Linked DNA regions of Homo sapiens: all the other regions are linked to region 7. Evidence: promoter capture Hi-C in 16 types of primary human blood cells and fetal thymus (Javierre and others, 2016). All regions are on one chromosome and are shown on one strand. Each heading gives the region's core, a stretch centred on a gene start or on the middle of the fragment in contact. The rest is flanking DNA. Distances are from core to core; before and after follow the strand shown.

What was found. Contacts are between HindIII fragments. The CHiCAGO score rates a contact against its expected background, and 5 or more counts as called.
Region 1: a fragment that was not itself captured here is called in contact with the fragment with the promoter of UBLCP1 in region 7 in 7 of 17 cell types (fetal thymus, total B cells, erythroblasts and 4 more); the score reaches 8.8 in fetal thymus.
Region 2: a contact is called between a fragment that was not itself captured here and the fragment with the promoter of UBLCP1 in region 7, in 5 of 17 cell types (fetal thymus, activated CD4 T cells, total CD8 T cells and 2 more). The highest score is 14.6, in fetal thymus.
Region 3: a contact is called between a fragment that was not itself captured here and the fragment with the promoter of UBLCP1 in region 7, in 1 of 17 cell types (fetal thymus). The highest score is 8.0, in fetal thymus.
Region 4: a fragment that was not itself captured here is called in contact with the fragment with the promoter of UBLCP1 in region 7 in 1 of 17 cell types (activated CD4 T cells); the score reaches 5.3 in activated CD4 T cells.
Region 5: a fragment that was not itself captured here is called in contact with the fragment with the promoter of UBLCP1 in region 7 in 2 of 17 cell types (naive CD8 T cells and naive CD4 T cells); the score reaches 6.1 in naive CD8 T cells.
Region 6: a contact is called between a fragment that was not itself captured here and the fragment with the promoter of UBLCP1 in region 7, in 1 of 17 cell types (fetal thymus). The highest score is 5.1, in fetal thymus.

Annotation. Positions count from the first base shown.
Region 1 is chr5:157,820,390-157,823,089 of GRCh38, reverse strand. The region is part of intron 1 of CLINT1 (clathrin interactor 1); the gene reads left to right. Among named protein-coding and RNA genes, the nearest start is that of CLINT1, 37 kb to the left of the region's middle. The HindIII fragment of the contact is 2,551 bases long and covers 12-2,562 here.
Region 2 is chr5:157,745,450-157,748,149 of GRCh38, reverse strand. All of the region lies in intron 1 of LSM11 (LSM11, U7 small nuclear RNA associated), which reads right to left. Among named protein-coding and RNA genes, the nearest start is that of LSM11, 3.1 kb to the right of the region's middle. The HindIII fragment of the contact is 899 bases long and covers 914-1,812 here.
Region 3 is chr5:157,262,114-157,264,813 of GRCh38, reverse strand. No RefSeq gene overlaps it. Among named protein-coding and RNA genes, the nearest start is that of CYFIP2, 2.7 kb to the left of the region's middle. The HindIII fragment of the contact is 642 bases long and covers 1,102-1,743 here.
Region 4 is chr5:157,603,933-157,606,632 of GRCh38, reverse strand. No RefSeq gene overlaps it. Among named protein-coding and RNA genes, the nearest start is that of ADAM19, 30 kb to the right of the region's middle. The HindIII fragment of the contact is 2,938 bases long and covers 1-2,700 here.
Region 5 is chr5:157,279,002-157,281,701 of GRCh38, reverse strand. All of the region lies in intron 1 of CYFIP2 (cytoplasmic FMR1 interacting protein 2), which reads right to left. Among named protein-coding and RNA genes, the nearest start is that of CYFIP2, 14 kb to the right of the region's middle. The HindIII fragment of the contact is 2,222 bases long and covers 167-2,388 here.
Region 6 is chr5:157,845,594-157,848,293 of GRCh38, reverse strand. The region is part of intron 1 of CLINT1 (clathrin interactor 1); the gene reads left to right. Among named protein-coding and RNA genes, the nearest start is that of CLINT1, 12 kb to the left of the region's middle. The HindIII fragment of the contact is 1,535 bases long and covers 582-2,116 here.
Region 7 is chr5:159,261,866-159,264,565 of GRCh38, reverse strand. It overlaps UBLCP1 (ubiquitin like domain containing CTD phosphatase 1), which reads right to left and starts at 1,276. Exons shown (of 11, transcript NM_145049.5): 1 at 1,206-1,276. RefSeq lists enhancers at 1,036-1,543, 1,300-1,609, 1,640-1,709, 1,544-2,051. The HindIII fragment of the contact is 1,074 bases long and covers 580-1,653 here.

The sequences.
Region 1 (2,700 bases), core at 38-2,537, 1.4 Mb after region 7:
GACAATAAGCTTAAAACAAAGAGAAACCATATAAAAAATATAGATTCATTTGACTTCAGTTTTTTTTTAAAGGAATAAAATTTAAAAGGCAAACTGGGAAAAATACTTCTCAATCTGTTTCACTTTACTCCTTATTCCTTTGTTAGCAGTTAGTACCACATTATACCTATACTTTACCTTTTCTCTTGGTGTATAGTTTTGTTTTAGCAAAGCATATTCTTGAACTTTTAAGAGGAAAAAATACCAACAAGGACTGCTCAAGTTTTTTCTTGTTAATTATTTTACTGATGATTCTTAATGTAGATAAGAAGTATTGACTGCCTGTAAGTAAAAGCCTCATTTTAGCTTTTAATCAATTCTACCTCTAAAAACTGGACTGAAACTTACCAAGTAAAATAATTTGATATTATCTGAATGTCAAGTAGTCAAATAAGCAGAAAATGGAGAATAAAGAGGAGGGCTACGATGAACACTAATAATTTACAAACTGAATAGTTGACCCTTGACTAACTGAATACTGGCTGTGTTTACATAGCTCTAGAAGCATGTGTTAGTCCATTTTCATGCTGCTGATAAAGGCATACCCAAGACTGGGAAGAAAAAGAGGTTTAATTGGACACAGTTCCACATGGCTGGGGAGGCCCCAGAATCATGGCGGGAGGTGAAAGGCACTTTTTACATGGCAGCAGCAAGGGAAAATGAGGAAGAGGCAAAAGCAGAAACCCCTGATAAGACCATGAGATCTTGGGAGGGATAGCATTACATATGCCTCATGTAAATGACGAGTTAACGGTTGCAGCATACAAACATGGCACATGTATACACCTGCACGTTGTGCACATGTACCCTAGAACTTAAAGTATAAAAAAAAAAAAAAGACCATCAAATCTTGTGAGACTTACTCACTACCACTAGAACAGTATGAGGGAAACCGCCCTCATGATTCAAATTATCTCCCAACAGGTCCCTCCCACAACACGTGGGAATTATGAGAGTACAATTCAAGATGAGATTTGGGTGGGGACACAGCCAAACCATATCAAAGCATGTGTGCAAAACTTGAGGATGGTAACTTCTCGCAGTTGGCACTAAAGATCTAGTGAGTCAGTGTTGCTGAGTTGTGCAGAGTGAAGTTGCTGGAGTGTTCTGAGAAGCAAATGTGAAAATGAGTAAAAGCACTTTGGAAACAACAAACAGTTTCATAAACAATAATGATTGTGTCTATGGATTTTATTCTTGTATTCTTCATTCTTTGGTGATTCCTTCCATCTTTCATTCCCTCTCTTAACTTTCTTTTTGGCCTAATATTAGAGTCCGTTAAGATTTGGTATTGTTAGCCAGTTATACTGCTGAACTACCCAGTAGTTGTAACTGTTACATTTAAACAGTGTGATCCTAGTAATTACCTATCTTTATCAGGACAGAGAAACCTACTCTTCAAGTCACTCATTTTCAAGACTCTTGTTTTAAGCAAAGAGAAAGTTAATATGTTGAGTAAGCCTAGATAGAACACATGTGAGAAGGGCTCATTTTGTACTTTCTGGTGACTATTAGATTGTTCTGAAAATTACAGATACTATTTAAACTAGTGAAGAAATGTAAAAATTACAGCAACATTTTTTTTCCTGGTTTATGTTCTCTTGTGAAACAGCAGCATTTCTTAAAGTTATTTTTCTTCTTTTACTTTCCCTCCATTATTACATCTCATGTCTGTTTATGTTTGCAGAAATTAAATACAGATAAAAATCTGGAAATAAAAGGTAGTTATTGATGGTGACAGCAGAAATGTTAAAAATCATTAGATATTTTGTGGGTCAAGTTTTCTTTTGGTATTACTGTCAGACTGGTTTAAAATAATATACAGAAAATTTTTTTGGTGTTATCAAAGTATTCTTGGTTACCTTTAAGTGTTATAATGATAATTACATGAAAGGAAATGTAAGTAGAAAAGCCTGTATCCAAAGACTTTGAGCCTTCAACAGAAGGTCATAATAATGGTTGCCGGTACTTTAAAAAAAACAACAACTAAGTGTAAAGAGATAATTTTTTAAAATTTCAAGTTAGGAATCTCAATTTAGGATTGGTGAAAGTCCGTAAGTCACTTGTTTGACTGTAGTGTTAGTTTAAATGGTATGAAATTTATTGGGGAGGGGCGGTGTCTTTTTCTGTAATTTTGTTTGCAGATCAAATTCTAGACCTTTGTCTGGATTGTTGTGTGTGTGTTTAAGAAACCGTTGAGAGTGCCCCCTCTAGCGTCTGTGATATATTCTTAAAACATTTGTGTCAGAAGTTTTCAGAATTAAACTAGCCATTTTTTTCCTTTCAAATCTGGACATAATTTTTATTTTTATTTTTAACACGGAGGGATTGTTTTCTTTTTTAAAAAAGGTCACTGGAATTATGGGTAGGGCATAGATTGAGGGCAGTAGAAAACATGAGAAAGGAAGGATTAAAATGCCATTTCTACCTTTTTAGAAATAGTTATTTTTAAATGACCTGGAATAAGGCCAAACCATACAGTGTTGTTTTTAGTTTACATTTGTTTCTGAATTAGTTGAAGCTTAAAATACTTTGTCTTGGAATTCTTTATGCCATCAAATCTCATCTTGAGGGGGTTCTTTGCAGTTTCTGAAAGCAACAGCTTCATTGGAAAATAGCTTTTTTTGGGGGAGGGGAGTGGGAGACAGGGTCTTGTTCTCT
Region 2 (2,700 bases), core at 114-2,613, 1.5 Mb after region 7:
TTTTAGTTGCCATTCTATAGAAGGGTGCCATGACAGATTGAAAGTACAATGTTTGAATCAGTGACCCGGCAAAGGCACATCAGTGTCTTCCCTATTGTGATGCTATGTCAAACTGGCCTAAACACACACACACACACACACACACACACACACACAGCAGTGTGGTGCAGAAATCATCTGAGACTATTCCTTAGTTGCACTGGAGACAGCTGACTGGAAACAGCTGCAATGAGCTGAGAAAAGTGACAAGGCTGAATTTTAAGCTTGGCCTTTTCTGAAGCCTAAGTACCGCTGTTCTCGGTTTTATGTAAGTCATACTCATGCCCTTTTGGCAACCTCTGTGTAACAGAGATGCTGTTCAAATTTGAGAGTTCATTTTACTGCTGTACACAGGGCTCAGATGTTCTTGATTTTGCCTATTTTCTTGCTCTTTATTTGCAGGAAGTGAAGTCAAAGTTATCCAAAGAATATCACTTTATTAAAATGAAAACATCAAGACACCATATTGTGGGAAATTATTTCAGCAATCAAAGTAAACTACAACAACAGGACTCAAACAAATTTTCAATCATGGTATCACGTCAGAGGCCCAATAAATCAGGTTTGTTTTGAAATCCTTCTCAGCAGGATGTGTGCGAGTAAAAGGACTGTGTAGGCTCCCTGCAGGAAAACTGAATTTGGAACTGGAGACAAGCCATTCACCTAGACAATGGTCTAGGAGCCAAACCCTGCATGTCATATGCATTTTGGATTGACCACACACACTTGTTCACACCGGCACAGGCTGCACACCAACACACCTGTAGCTAAAACAAAGTAATGATAACACTTTTTCTTACAGCTTTATAATGTCAAGACGTGAGCTTGAACACACCAGTTCATTTCACAGTGACAGATATACCTAGAAAAAGCTTGCTTGAAGCACAATTATAAACCAGAACCACCGTGGGCTAGGTATGGTGCTGCGATACTAAGGAGAAATATAGACACTAGAATTATGTGGAAAAGAGGATAATGCTCTTTAGTCTTGTCTTACCATCTCTATAGGCATGTCAATATTAAAAAGGAGGAAAAGCAATTGCATTCCACTTGCAAGTACAGCTTGTGTGTGAGTTCTTTGTTGGTATCAGTGATGGCTTAGGCTTAATGATGACGAAAAACCTTTCCTCCTATGCTTTTTTTCTTCTTTAGTATTCCCAGTATTGCAACAGCCTCCTATACTTTTATTATTACTTTTTTTTGAGACCTCGTATCACCTCTGTAGAGGTCTCTATGATGTCCCTATGATCTCGGCTCACTGCAGCTTCCACTTACAGGGTTCAAGCGATTCTCGTGCCTCATCCTCCTGAACAGCTGGAACTAGAGGCAGATGCTGCCATGCCCAACTAATTTTTGTATTTTTAGTAGAGACAGGGTTTCACCACGTTGGCCAGGCTGGTCTTGAACTCCTGGCCTCAAGTGTTCTGCCCGCCTCGGCCTCCCAAAGTGCTGGGATTACAGGTGTGAGCCACTGTGCCTGGCTACTTTTAAAATTTTATTACTGCAAGGAAAAGAATACAACTGCTCCACAAGGGAATTCAAAGAGATTCTATGACAGAGATACAAAGTGAAATATTTTACAGTTAAAACACCATTACACTTAATTTTGCACTCCTTGTTTTTTCATAAACATTCCACACTGTCCTCTCTGTGAATTTGGATGGGTAACTTGGATCTGAATTGATGAAATACATCATTTTAAAGTCAGCGACAAAATGTAGCTCCTCATGTATTCTTCATTATGTTTCACTGATGATATGACCTAACAAAGCTTCTTCTTGCTGTTACAGCCTGATGGAACTTACATTTTATGTGAATATTTTGCAAAGGATTATGCATTCTCAAATGCATAGGCATTTTTTTCCAGAAAGCATTTGTATATGTCCACAAATAGTATTATCTTACTGGTATCTATATTTTGATTTTCCTGAGCAACTGTATCCAATCAGAGTTTAGAGTAGGCATATATTTTTTTAAATTAAAACTGTGGCATACATATAAAACATACCTAGTTCTTTTTTTTCCCCCCTTCCAACTTTTGTTTTTGGATCAGGAGGTACACGAAAGGTTTGTTGCAGGTGTAAATCGTGTGTCACTGGGGTTTGGTGCACAAATTATTTTGTCACCCAGGTAGTGATCACAGTACCCAATAGGTAGTTTTGTGATTCTCACCCTCCTCCCACCCTTCACCCTCAAGTAGGAACTCTTTCTTGAATGAATCCAATCCTCACCCATGTTTCTGTTGTTTTCTTGCTTTCTGAAGGTCATCAACTCTGTGCGACGTCAATGCCTTTCTCTCATGTACACTCAACTGTCTGCAGTGCCATGGTGAAAATTTTCAGTATGTAGGGCATATTCTCTGAGATCTTGATTCCAGGGATATATACTTAATCATAAGAAGTTGACAAAGCTGGTCTTCACACACTGTCATACCATTACAGTAAAGTGCTCTATAGGGAAAGCTAAAACCACCCACCACATAGCAATACACAGGAATATTCCTTTCCCTTGACAATCTTGGTAGCAAAGCAATAACTGGTAAAATAGAAATAAATGTTGCAATGAGACTTGGAGTGCATTTCAACTACCTAATGGTGGCAAATTGCATAGGCAAATTAAGGTCCCCCAAACTGCTCTCATTTTGGGAACAAGCATACTGTC
Region 3 (2,700 bases), core at 173-2,672, 2.0 Mb after region 7:
CTGCACCAAATTCTAACCTTGAGACACCTGAGCAGGTCACTTCACCACTCTGCTCCACAGAGGTCACCGTATCTGCAACACAGGGAATAACAGTTGCCCTTTATACCTTACAGGGTAAATAATTTGAAAACATTTGAGACATTGTGGAGTGTATGTAGATATAAGGAGTGGTTTCCTAAGGCCCACAAATTTATACTTAATCACTCAGCTGTTCCTAATAAGGGCAATTTGTGGAGGAGCCCCGTTATTCAAGCTCCAGCAAAGGACTTGTGGAAGCCTTTGCTTTCCTTTACTGATCTCACCTTATTTCCCACGTGCTCAGAATCCATAATTCCTTGTGGTTTGATCTTAAATCGCTAATTCCAATTCAAATTGCTATTTCGGAAAAAAATGACTTATATATATATATATATACACACACATACATTTCTTCCCTGGTTCAGTGTGAAAAGCTGTGGGGGTGTTTGTGGAGGATGGGTTTAAAAACAGAACTGAGGTTTCCTTTTTAAAAAATGTTTCATTTTCCACCGTGATCCTTGGGATTTCAAGTTCAGTGATTACAAATACTTAACAATGAGAATCCCAATAAATCAGATTTTCATTCTAAGGGGCATATTATTGCAGATGGTATAGTTTTTTGGAAGACGTATTTCTCCCTGTTGTTCCTTCCCTGTCTTTTCACCTTCAGGAACAAGTTGCCTAAAAACAGAAAAGACTATTACATATATATTTGGTTAGATCTTAGGCAAAAATAACTCCGACCTCTGAGTTCTATTTGTGTATAAAGGAGAGCAGTATGGTCTTTTGAAGCCACTGTGTTGGAAATCCAGAGGCTTGCCTTTTGGTTCTAGTTTTGCAACTAACAGAAGAATGATCTTAGGCAAGGAGCCTCACCCCTGTTTCCTCACCTGTTAAGTGAAGTAAGTTGGATGCTCTCCAACTTCCCTCTGAATGTGGAAAATTACATGAGTTAAAGGGCACGTCCCTCCCAGGCTTAAGGCACTTCCCTAGCTCCCCACTGCCCCCCGATGAAGCCCAAACTCTCCAGTGGCCGGAGAGGGTCTTTAAGAGCTGGCAGCTATCTCTCCATGTGAACAAGCTTGCTGTGCTTCAGCTAAAAGGAACAGCTTTTAGTTCCTCAAACTTGCTGTGTTCTCTGTTGTGCTCGACATTCGTACATGCAAGGCTTCTTCAATGGCAGTTTCTGTCCCCCCATTCCCTCCCTCCACATTCCACACTTTTTCCCAGTTTACCTGATGAAGTTCTGTTCATCTTCCTGGTATTCCTCTAGATGTCGCTTCCTCCAAGATTCCTACATGTCTGGGTTAGCTTGAGATTAGTTGTCTATGTGTCCTTAGCTGCCTGGGCTCCCTCTATCACCCCACGTATTAGTCTGCATTATAATTGTCAACACACTTCCCTGTATTCCACCATGAGACCATAAAATCTAAGGGAGCAGGGATATGTCTGTCTTGCTTTCCCATTGCATCCTTGGAGCCTGGTACTTAACAGGAGTTCAGTAAAAATGGATGGAATGAACACCCATAGGTGACATTTTTAAACTTTGCCACTGAAATGTATAGCTGTCTGTCTACTGCCTTCAGATTTCCTTCACATCCAACCCCAAGCTGTGCATCAGCAATGAAATGGTAGAGGATATCAATAAGAATTGCTTTGGTACTTGCAAAGCTGTGGCCCACATGTTGTCCATGTGGCAACATTACCTTGTGTTTTAGAAAAGCTTCAAGTTATAATCCCAGCACTTTGGGAGGCCGAGGCAGGTGGATTGCCTGAGGTCAGGAGTTCGAGACCAGCCTGGCCAACATAGTGAAACCCAGTTTCTACTAAAAATACAAAAAATTAGCTGGGCATGGTGGCGAGCGCCTGTAATCCCAGCTACTCAGGAGGGTGAGGCAGAATTGCTTGAACCCGGGAGGTGGAAGTTGTAGTGAGCCGAGATCACACTGTTGCACTCCAGCCTGGGCAACAAGAGCAAAACTCTGTCTCAAAAAAAAAAAAAATATATATATATATATGTATTTTAAAACTATCAGGAGACCCTGCTTTATAGACACCAGTAATGAAGTATCTGGAATGGGCATGAAGGGAAAACATAAATAATGATAATAATAATAATGGCTAACATTTACCAAGTACATTACCTCATTTAATTTTTCGTAATTTTTCTATAAGGAAAATACAATCATTTTTCCCATTTTTATAATTGAGGCAATTAAGGTTTAATAATTTGCCCAAGGTAGTGAAGTCAAACCCATGCTTTTTACCACAATCTCATACAGCCTCACTTTCCCTCTTCCAAGCTAAGTCCATTTGTTTACTAATATGCTACCTTATTCTAAAAACATATTAAATGTAAGTTACAGGAATACATTATGTTAAAAAATTAAAAATCAGCAAGAAATTTTTTAAAAAGAAGGAAAAGAGTAGAGAGATGAGATGGAGAATCGAATGTACATAAGACCAAAATGTAAACAAAACAAAAATCAATCACAGCTCTACCTGCTATGAGCTTGCTAACACATTTGGTTCTAAGTATTTATGTGGGTGGCAGGAAAAGATAAACTTGATGGTCAGTTACAGAATTTACATTGGCCATTCTGTAGATAGAACCTGACCACTTGCTCAAAATTGCCTCATTTTATAGGCAAGAGAATTGCTTGAGCCCAGGAGGTGGAGGTT
Region 4 (2,700 bases), core at 55-2,554, 1.7 Mb after region 7:
ACTTTCATTCTGCAACCTAGGCTGGAATGCAGTGGCACCATCAGCGTTCACTACAGGCTCGACCTCCTGAGATCAGGTGATCCTCCCACCTCAGTCTGCTGAGTAGCTGGGACTGCAGGTGTGTGCCATCATACCCAGTCAATTTTTTATAGACACAGGGCTTCGCCGTGTTGCCCAGGCTGGCCTTAAACTCCTGGGCTCCAGTGATTATCCCACCTTGGTTTCCCAAAGTGCTAGGATTCCTGCTGTGAGCCACCATGCCCGGCCTTATGTAAGGCTTAATGCATAATTACAATGGTCTGATTGGTGAAGGTCATCTTTTTCTTTCAGGAAAGATATACTGAACATTCCATACTGAAGATGAAACAGTCATGAGGTCTTTTGCGCCATCTGGTTTGAGTTAGGTACAGAATAATGCAGGAGACAATCTATAACAAAGGTCAGTGATTAGAAGGGGAGGACATCTGGTCTCTGGTCTCTCCCAGTCATTTATAGCACAAGAACAATGAGAAAAGAGAGTTGATCTATAATCTAAGAAGCAGAAGTTGCAACTACATGCTAAGTGACTCAGATCACCAGTTCTCTCTCAAGGTTTAAAGTCTTTTTGGAAGCCAGGTGTGGTGGCACATACCTATAATCCCAGCATGCTGGAAAGCCAAGGTGGGCTGATTGCTTGTGCTCAGGAACTCAAGACCAGCCTGGGCAACATGGCGAAACCCTGTCTCTACAAAAAAATACAAAAATTAGCCAGGTGTGGTGGTGCGCACCTATAGTCCCAGCTACTCGGAGGCTGAGGTGGGACTTTGCCAGAAAAAAAAAGTGCTTTGGGGGTTCCAACAGCTTTTGAATGTATTTATGTTCACAACTTTTGTCTCTATTATTTATTTCAAATTAATTTTTGTGTATGATGTGAGCTAAAGGTCGAAGTTCATTTTTTTCATATGGCTGTCCAGTTCTTTCAGTACCGTTTATTGAAAAGATCATTCTGAGCAGCAACATGGTGGTTGGCAAGAACAAGTACCTTACGAAAGACAGCAAAAAGGGAGCCAAGAAGTGGCTGATCCATTTTCTTTTTTTCTTTTTTCTTTTTTTTGAGACAGTCTTGCTCTATCCCCCTGGCTGGAATACAATGGTGTGATCTCAGCTCACTGCAACCTCCGCCTCCCGAGTTCAAGCAATTCTCATGCCTCAGCCTCCTGAGTAGCTGGGATTACAGGTGCCTGCTACCATGCCTGGCTAATTTTTTTTTTTTTTTTTTTTGAGATAGCGTCTCACTCTGTTGCTCAGGCTAGAGTGCAATGGCACGATCTCGGCTCACTGCAACCTCTGCCTCCCAGGTTCAAGCAATTATCCTGCCTCTGCCTCCCAAGTAGCTGGGATTACAGGCGTGTGCCACCACACACGGCTAAGTTTTTGTATCTTTAGTAGAGACGGGGGTTTCACCATGTTGGCCAGCCTGGTCTCAAATTCCTGACCTCAGGTGATTCACCCGCCATGGCCTCCCAAAATGCTGGGATTACAGGCTTAAGTCACTGCGCCCAGTCTAATTTTTCTATTTTTAGTAGAGACGGGGTTTCACCATCTTGGCCAGGCTGGTCTTGAACTCCTGACCTCAGGTGATCCACCTGCCTCGGCCTCCCAAAGTGCTAGGATTACAGGTGTGAGCCACCACCCCTGGCTGGTTGATCCATTTTCTAAGAAAGATTGGTACGATGTGAAAGCATGCTATGTTCAGTAGAAGAAATACTGGAAAGACACTGGTCACCAGGACCCAGGGAACCAAAATTGCACCTGGTAGTCTGAAGGGTCGTGTGTTTGAAGTGAGTCTTGCTGATTTGCAGAATGATGAAGTTGCATTTAGAAAATTCAAGCTGATTACTGAAGATGTTCAAGGCAAAAACTACCTAACTTCCAAGGCATGGATCTTACCTGTGACATGGGGGAGAGAGTGGAATTTAGCCTAAGTCAGCCTGGTCCCAAGGTTCCTTAATCTGGAACTCTAAGGCCTTTTTAGAATATTATCTTAATTGTCTGCTTGTCTGTTGAATGAAAAGGGATCCATGTAGGCCTCACGCCTGTAATCTCAGCACTTTTGGGAGGCCGAGGCAGGTGGATCACCTCAGGTCAGGAGCTCTTGACCAGCCTGGCCAACATGGTGAAACCCCGTCCCTACTAAAAATACAAAAAATTAGCCAGGCCTGGTGGCAGATGCCTATAATTCCAGCTACCCGGGAGGCTGAGGCAGGAGAATCGCTTGAACCCAGGAGACAGAGGTTGCAGTGAGCCGAGATCGCCCCACTGCACTCCAGCCTGGGCAACAAAAGTGAAATTCCGTCTCAAAAAAAAAAAAGAAGAAAGAAAGAAAGAAAGAAAGAAAGAAAGAAAGAAAGAAAGAAAGAAAGAAAGAGGCTCCATATAATTGGTATTGGAAATTTCTCCTCAGTCATCCGTAACTATCAAACTGTTAGTGCAATCCTGAACTAAAGGTCTTTAATTATGACTTTGTTCATCACAAAGGTTTCCGACTCTTTGAAAAAGACAGAACATCATTATTTCTTCCGACAAGTGCTTCTTCAAATGGGATCCCAATCCTTAAACCTTGCAGGAATATTGACATTGGGAGGAAGCCAGTGCTCAGCCCCAGTTAGTATTTCTCATCTTTAGGTAAACTTCTCCTTTTAAAGCTGTTTCCTGGGCTTT
Region 5 (2,700 bases), core at 28-2,527, 2.0 Mb after region 7:
AAAAAGTGGCCCCCAAATCGAAAAGTAAAATGAAACAAATGAATGTATATATATGTTGTACTATTGGAGTAACTCCACAGAAAGGGACTATTATTCCAAGTGATTTTAAAATCGAGTGATGTGCTGGAAGAGCCCTGATGGATCACAAAGACATCTAATAAAAGCTTGGTTTTTATTACTTTGTTACTGTTAGATGAGCCTGTGAACCAACCTTTATGTTGAGAATTGGTAAATAAAAGCAAACATTTAACCTGTCTTTCTTAAACTATACCACTAGATAACCGAACTATAGAAGAGATGGATGTTTCTTTCCATAAAAGTATTTTTTTCCTTTTTAACAGAAAAATGATAATATCCTTGTTTTCCAACCTCTACAAACAAATGGATCTAGGCACGGATCATCATCAGCTGTTAACATCCCTAAATGAAAGACAATCAGATATTATGTGCTTAATGATGGAAAAACGCACCAAGAATGCTGGATCCAAAACAAAACACCTGAATCTAATTAAGCCTTTGACGCCAACTCACAGGAAATATAAGAGGGCAGAAAAACATGCTACACCCCAGTGATGTAATCAGCAAAATGCAATCTATGACAAATTCTGCTGGACAAATGACTCAGGACCTCTAACAAATAAATTGCAAAGATAGAAAAGAGAGATGGGAGGAAAGTCTATAGATTTTGAAGAGACTGAACACACTATCATGTGTGGACCTTATTTGGATCCTATTTCAAACAAACCACCATACAAATAAAATTATAACTTTATGAGAAAATTAGAAAATTAGTACTGACTGGATATTTGATAATATGAAGGAAATATTGTATTTAGGTTTGATAATATCAAGGTTATGTTTTAAAAGAACCTATATCTTCCAGAAAGATCTACTAAAATATAGATAAAAGGACACAGGGTTTTGCTTCTAAATAATACTAGATGGGGGAAGAGTGAATAGAAATGAAACAAATTCGCAGTGAGTTAGTAACTATAGATTGTGTGTGACACATACATAGAAATTACTGTATTTTTCCATCCAATTTTATATATGTTTCAAATTTTTCATAAAATCCCCTAGATCAGTTTATAAGCTCCCAGCTCTTATCCAACTTCCCTTTTTTTCTCCTGTAACTAGGTTTCTTCTGGGCTACTCAAACTTAAAAAATACTCATTTACAGACGGGTGTGGTGGCTCACGCCTGTAATCCCAGCACTTTGGGAGGCTGAGACGGGTGGATCACCTGAGGTCAGGAGTTCGAGACCAGCCTGACCAGCCTGGTCAATTTTTCTTTAGTAGAAATCCCATTTCTACTAAAAATACAAAAAAAAAAAAAAAATTAGCCAGGCGTGGTGGTGGGTGCCTGTAATCCCAGCTACTCAGGAGACTGAGGCAGGAAAATCACTTGAACCCAGGAGGCAGAGGTTGCAGTGAGCCAAGATCATGCCATTGCACTCCAGCCTGGGCAACAAGGGCAAAACTTCATCACACACACACACACAAAAATACTCATTTACCAGAATAACCATTAAGTTCTCCTCTGTAGCATAATAGTACCCCTGAACATCCCTTGAAGAGAATCAATAAGTAAGTGAACAACCTACAAAGCAAATAAATTAGGAGTCTGTTTATGTTAATGCTATCTTTCTTCTCCCCTGGCAAATACAACTTCTGTAGTGGATTTCTATGAGCATTGGTAGATCATTCAGTGCCTAAGGGAGAAGGAAATCCGACATTTTTAGCTCAAGTGCTGGTAGGCACTGCCAAATCCACATCAATCAGAAAGGAAAAATATTCTGGAAATTTGAACAGAGGTATAAATGAAAATAAGAACGTACTTCTTTCCTGCCCAAGTGTCCTGCCTGTTACGCAATCTTCCAAGTGAGAATGATTCTTTATATTCGGTCTACGAACATGTGACCATTTCATCATTTTGAAAAAGAAATTAATAAAATATTTAAAAGTTAACAGTGTTCTGGGAGCATCATTTACCAAACACAGCTGCAAATTCTCAGTGGCGGGCATTCATGATGGGTTTAAATGCAGTGTCTTCATAACAAACTCAGTCGGTGGCCTGGTTTCACCAAAAGTAATAATAACATTGGGCACACAAGCAATTTGCTTCTGAGAAGGGGGGGCTTTAGGTGCCCCCCCAGGCAGACATGACTGACAGACCCCAAGCAAGAGGGGGGTGGGTCCCATAAATGCAGGGCGACTGCCAGGAGAACATGGCTTTGGAAATGCAGGTTCTGACATTTACAGCTTAAACCCTGTTTCTCTGTAAGCAAAATACTTGCATTGTCATTATCTGTTTGATTTTTCTGGAAAGAAATGAAATATTAAGACTTTTTACTGAAGTGAAATATTAGGCTAGTGTAGTGGGTAAGCTTGAGTTCTGGGTTTCAATCTGTCATCTGCCACTTATGAGCTATATAAACAATAGCATGTTCCTTAACCTCTCCGAGCCTCAGTTTCCTTACCTTGTAAGGGTGACAATTTACAATAGTGCCTGTCCTCAATGTTTATTTTGATTATATAACTACAGCATGTAGAATACTTAACACAGTAGCCAGCAAAGACATGTCAAAAGACAAAATTACAATAAATTTATAGAATTAATTGTCCTTAATTTGTGATTTATGAATTGAAGCACCTCCTTTCTATACAATAGAATGAAAGCTCCCACTGGGCAATAGCAAAA
Region 6 (2,700 bases), core at 100-2,599, 1.4 Mb after region 7:
GAAACCCCATCTCTACTAAAGATACAAAAATTAGCCAGGGGTAGTGGCGGGCCCCTGTAGTCCCAGCTACTTGGGAGGCTGAGGCAGAATTGCTTGAATCTGGAAAGTGGAGGTTTCAGTGAGCCAAGATAGTGCCACTCCAGCCTGGGCGACAGAGCGAGACTCCATCTCAAAAAAAAATTTTTTTTGGCCAGGTGCAGTGGCTCACACCTGTATCCCAGTACTTTGGGAGTTCAAGGCACGTGGATCACTTGAGCCCAGGAGTTGAAGACCAACCTGAGCAATATGGTGAAACCTCATCTCTGCTAAAAATACAAAAATTAGTCAGGTGTGGTGGCAAGTAGTCTCAGCTACTCAAGAGGCTGAGGTAGGAGGATTACTTGAGCTCAGGAGGTCAAGGCTGCAGTGAACAGTGATGGTGCCACTGTACTCCGGCCTGGGCAATGGAGGGAGACATCGTCTCAAGAAAAACAAGAAAAATCTTTGTTGTCATTTTAACCATGTTCTTCACTGGCAGTAGAGTCCATCTCAAGAAACCACTTATTTTGCTCATCTAGAAGAAGCAACTCATCATTCAAGCTTTATCATGAGATTACAGCAATTCAGTCACATCTTCAGGCTCCGCTCCTAATTCTAGTTTTCTTGCTGTTCTCACCACATCTGCAGTGACGTCCGTCACTGAAGTCTTGAACCCCTCAAAGTGATCCATGAGGTTTGGAATCAACTTCCAGACTCCTGTAAATGTTGATATTTTTACCATGAATCACAATTTTTTTTTTTTTTGAGACGGAGTCTTGCTCTGTCGCCCAGGCTGGAGTGTAGTGGCACGATCTCGGCTCACTGCAAGCTCTGCCTCCTGGGTTCACGCCATTCTCCTGCCTCAGCCTCCCAAGTAGCTGGGACTACAGGCGCCCACCACCACGCCTGGCTAATTTTTAATTTTTAAGTTTTCTGTAGAGATGAGGTTTCGCTATGTTGCTGAGGCTAGCCTTGAACTCCTGAGTTTAAGCAGTCCTCCTGCCTTGGCCTCCCAAAGTGCTAGGATTACAGGTGTGAGCTGTGCCCAGCCACTAATATTCTTAATGGCAAAACTAGTATGGTGAATTCTTTCCAGAAGGTTTTCAATTTACTTTTCCCAGATCCATCAGAGGAATCACTAGCTAGGCAGTTACAGCCTTATGGAATGTATTTTCTTAAATAATAAGACTTGAAAGTCTAAATGACTTCTTGATCCATGGGCTACAAAACGAACATTGTGTTAGCAGACATGAAAACACTCATCTCTTTGTACGTCTCCATCAGAGCTCCTTGGTGACTCCTTGTCCATGTGAAATAATATTTTGAAAAGAATCTTTTCTTCTGAGCAGTAGATCTCAACAGTGGGCTTAAAATAATCAGTAAACTATGCTGTAAACAGATGCGCCATCATTTAGGCTTTGTTGTTCTATTTCTATAGCACAAGCAGAGTAGATTTAGCATAATTCTTAAGGGCCCCAGGATTTTCATAATGTGCAGTGAGCACTGGCTCACAGCTGCGTTAGCCCATGAGAAGAGATTCAGCCTGTCCTTTGAGGCTTTGAAGCCAGGCACTGACCTCTCTAGCTATGAAAGTCCTAGATGGCATCTTCCACTGGAAGGCCGTTTCATCTCCATTGAAAATCTGTTTAGTGTAACCACTTTCATTAGATGATCTTAGCTAGACCTTCTGGATAATTTGCCATAGCTTCTACATCAGCACTTACTGTTTCACCTTAAATTTTTCTCTTATGGAGGCGGCTTCTTTTCTTAAACCTCATAAACTTCTGCTAGCTTCAGCTTCTCTTTTGCAGCTTCCTCACCTCTCTCAGCCTTCATAGAACTGTATAGAGTTAGGGCCTTGCTCTGGATTAGGCTTTGGCTTAAGGGAATGTTGTGGCTAGTTTGATATTCTATTCAAACCACTCAAACTTTCTCCATATCAGCAGTGAAGCTCTGTTTCACTTATCATTGTTGTGTTCACTAGACTAGCACTTTAAATTTCCTTCAAGAACATTTCCTTTGCATTCACAACCTAACTTTTTGGCACAAGAGGCATAGCTTTTAGCCTGTCTCAGCTTTCAACATACCTTCCTAAGCTTAATCATTTCTAGCTTTTGATTGAAAGTAGGAGATGTGCAGCTCTTCCTTTCACTTGAACACTTAGAGGTCATTGTAGGGTTATTAATTGACCTAATGTCAATATTGTGTCTAAGGGAATAGAGATGCCAGAGGAGAGGGAGAGCGGCAGGAATGGGCAGTCAGTGGAGCAGTCAGGACACATTCAACTTACTATCAATTAGCAGCGTGGTTCATGCTATCCCCAAACAATTACAATAGTAACATCAAAGATCACTGATCACAGACTGCTATAACAGAAAGAATAATGAAAAAGTTGGAAATATTGTAAGAATTACTAAAATGCGGCCGGGCATGGTGGCTTACGCCTGTAATCCCAGCACTTTGGGAGGTGGAGGCAGGCGGATCACGAGGTCAGGAGATCGAGACCATCCTGGCTAACACGGTGAAACCCCGTCTCTACTAAAAATACAAAAAAAAATTAGCCGGGCGTGGTGGCAGGCACCTGTGGTCCCAGCTACTTGGGAGGCTGAGGCAGGAGAATGGCGTGAACCCGGGAGGCGGAGCTTGCAGTGAGCCAAGATCGCGCCACTGCACTCCAGCCTG
Region 7 (2,700 bases), core at 27-2,526:
CGAAGCACCTATCCCACAAGTGGAAATTCCAAGTTGGCAAATGCCTTAAAGGGCCAAGCGAAACAAACACCATAAAAATTGTAAATGCATATGTCTTTAAGATTTGTTTAAAAGTTACTGAACCTTATTTCATCATTAAGACCGTTCACACCAATGAAGCAGTGTGATATAAATGCATGAGCTATTTTGCTTTCACATTTAACCTTCTTTCTTAGTATTTTGTATCATTTCAGATCCCATCAGATTTATAAGCTGAAAAATGATTTGGGGTGTGGGGAGGAGTGAAGTTGGCAAACCCAAACAAGCAAGCAAAGAATACACTTCCATATGGTCAACCTAGGGTCAAGAATAGCTGTTTAGGTTGGAGTTCTACCTAACATACTGTGTTGACTTTGCCTAGTCAATCCACCTCTTGGCCTCAGTCTTCTCAACAAGATGAGGCTACTAATATTCACTGGACAGGAGTAGTGTTAAGGTATGAAGTAACACCTGTGACAGCACTTTGTAAACTGTAAAACACAATACAAATGGTGTTCATGATGGAATAAAAACATGCTAAACAATTATCTCATTGAAGCTTCACAATCCTGAACCAACAGCTGTTGTCCTCATTATACAAATGAGAATCCTGAAAAGAAATTAAACTTGCCCGGGACCACAAACCTAAAAAGTGGCAAATGAAGAAATTTTAAAGTATAGCAGTAAAAGTAACACTTTGGGAATTAACGGGAGGTTAACTTTCAACAATCCCAGCAAAAGATAACCGTGAAGCACTAAGAACTCCGGCGAGAACCGCACACCAGCAACAACTGCGAGGTGGTGCAGGGTCGGGGGCTGTGCTAACTGACTTAGGGGAGCATTAGGAGGCAGGTGGAGGCTCCAGAACCAAAAAGGCCGGGATGCCTTCAACAAGGAGGTTGAGGGGAGGGATGGACAAGCCTGAGAAGACGGAGGAATGAAGTTTGGGGACGCAAAACCCACTGGGAAACAGAAAGCCCTCCAAATAGGCTAGACTGCTGGATGGGAGGACAGCGGCCCCCGCGACTAAGCGGGCCGGGGCTAGGGGCCTGGGCGTCAGACTAGGACAGACACTATCCCCAGCCCGCCGCAGTGCAAGCCACGCCGCGCGGGCCGCAAAGCCACTGTCCCCGAGCCCCAACAGCGTCTCCAAGGGCAGCGCGCCAGGGTGCCCCGCAACCCCTCACCTGGAGCGCGGTGGAACCTGCGGCAGCGGACGCAGAAACCGGCCGCTGAGAGACCGAAAGCGACCGGAAGTGAAGGGCGGGACCGGAACCGGCTGAAAAACCGGAAGTGGGTGGTTTGAAACGGAAATATGTTGGGGACGGAACAACTGCTTCCTTTGAATCTCTTCGGGTGCTAATCAAATGGCCGCTGTAAGGGATCTCCACAAAGCCACGAAGAAGCCAGGCCTTTCCGAGACTGTAACCGCTGTGCAGATAGCGCCGATCCCTGGGTGGCCGCTCTCTCGTTCTGCGCGTGCGCTCGTTCTGGGCTGGGAGCGGATGGGTGCTGAGGCGTGTGACGTCTCTAGTAGTGTCGTAACTGGGTGTGCTGCCTTTTCCAGGTGTACTGAGGTCTTCGTGAGATTCAGGGCTAGGACTCGTGTGGCTGTGTCATGTTCCGAATGAAGCTTAAAAGGTGATCTTTGAGAACTGAAGACTTGAGACCCCTCCATGGGCCCAGGGGCTGCCAACACTAATAATTTCAGAGACTTAGAATCTGAGGAGAATCTCCAATCTAAGGGGAAACGGAAGAGGGTCAGGAAAGAGAAGGGGCAAGCTTAAGTGACTCAGAATCCAAGAAGCAAGTCTCATAGGAGAGCTGCGATCGAGGTTACCATACAGTATCCAATCGTCTCAACCTTCCCATCCATACTTCCATGCTGTCTTTCCTCTGAATGCAAGGAAAACCGGTTACACAAACGCTGACAAAAGAATGTCAGACTTGAATGGAAATTCGGAGCAGTACCCATCTGGTCCATACAGCGAACTCCCAGTGAGCACCACGGCAATGTAACTAATTCATGTTTCCCTCTTGGCAGTGCGGGAAAGGCAGCAAAGAGCCAAGTTTTGTATCTTAACAGTTCTTTAGTTAAGAGGCACACGCTATTTTGCATTCTTCCCTACTTTTGATAATTTTTGGCTGCACTAGTAATGCATGAGTATCTGCTCATTTAAAAAACTCAAACTTTTTCAGTGAAAAGTATGCCCTTTTCTTCAGAAAGTCTTAATTAAAAAAAAAAAAAAAATCATTGCCCAGACCAACATTTTCAAGCATTTTCTCAAATCGTTTTCTTGGAATAGCTGCATAGTTTTGGGTCTTACATTGAAGTTTGGTGCTCATATGTGGGAGCTAAAAAAAAGTTGACTCCATGGAGATAGAGAGTAAAATTGTGGTTACCAGAGGCTGGGAAGGATAAGGAGGGAGAAGGAGATGAAGAGAAGTTAAAAGGAGCGAAAATATGGTTAGACAGAAGGAATAAGTTGTAGCGTTCCACAGCACAGTAGGGTGACTATAGTAATCAATAATTTATTTTGTATTTCAAAATAGAGGAGAAAGGTTGGGATAGTCTCAACACAAATGATAAATGTTGGCCGGGCACAGTGTGGCTCACACCTGTAATCCCAGCACTTTGGGAGGCCAAGACAGGCAGATGACTAGAGGTCAGGAGTTCAAGAC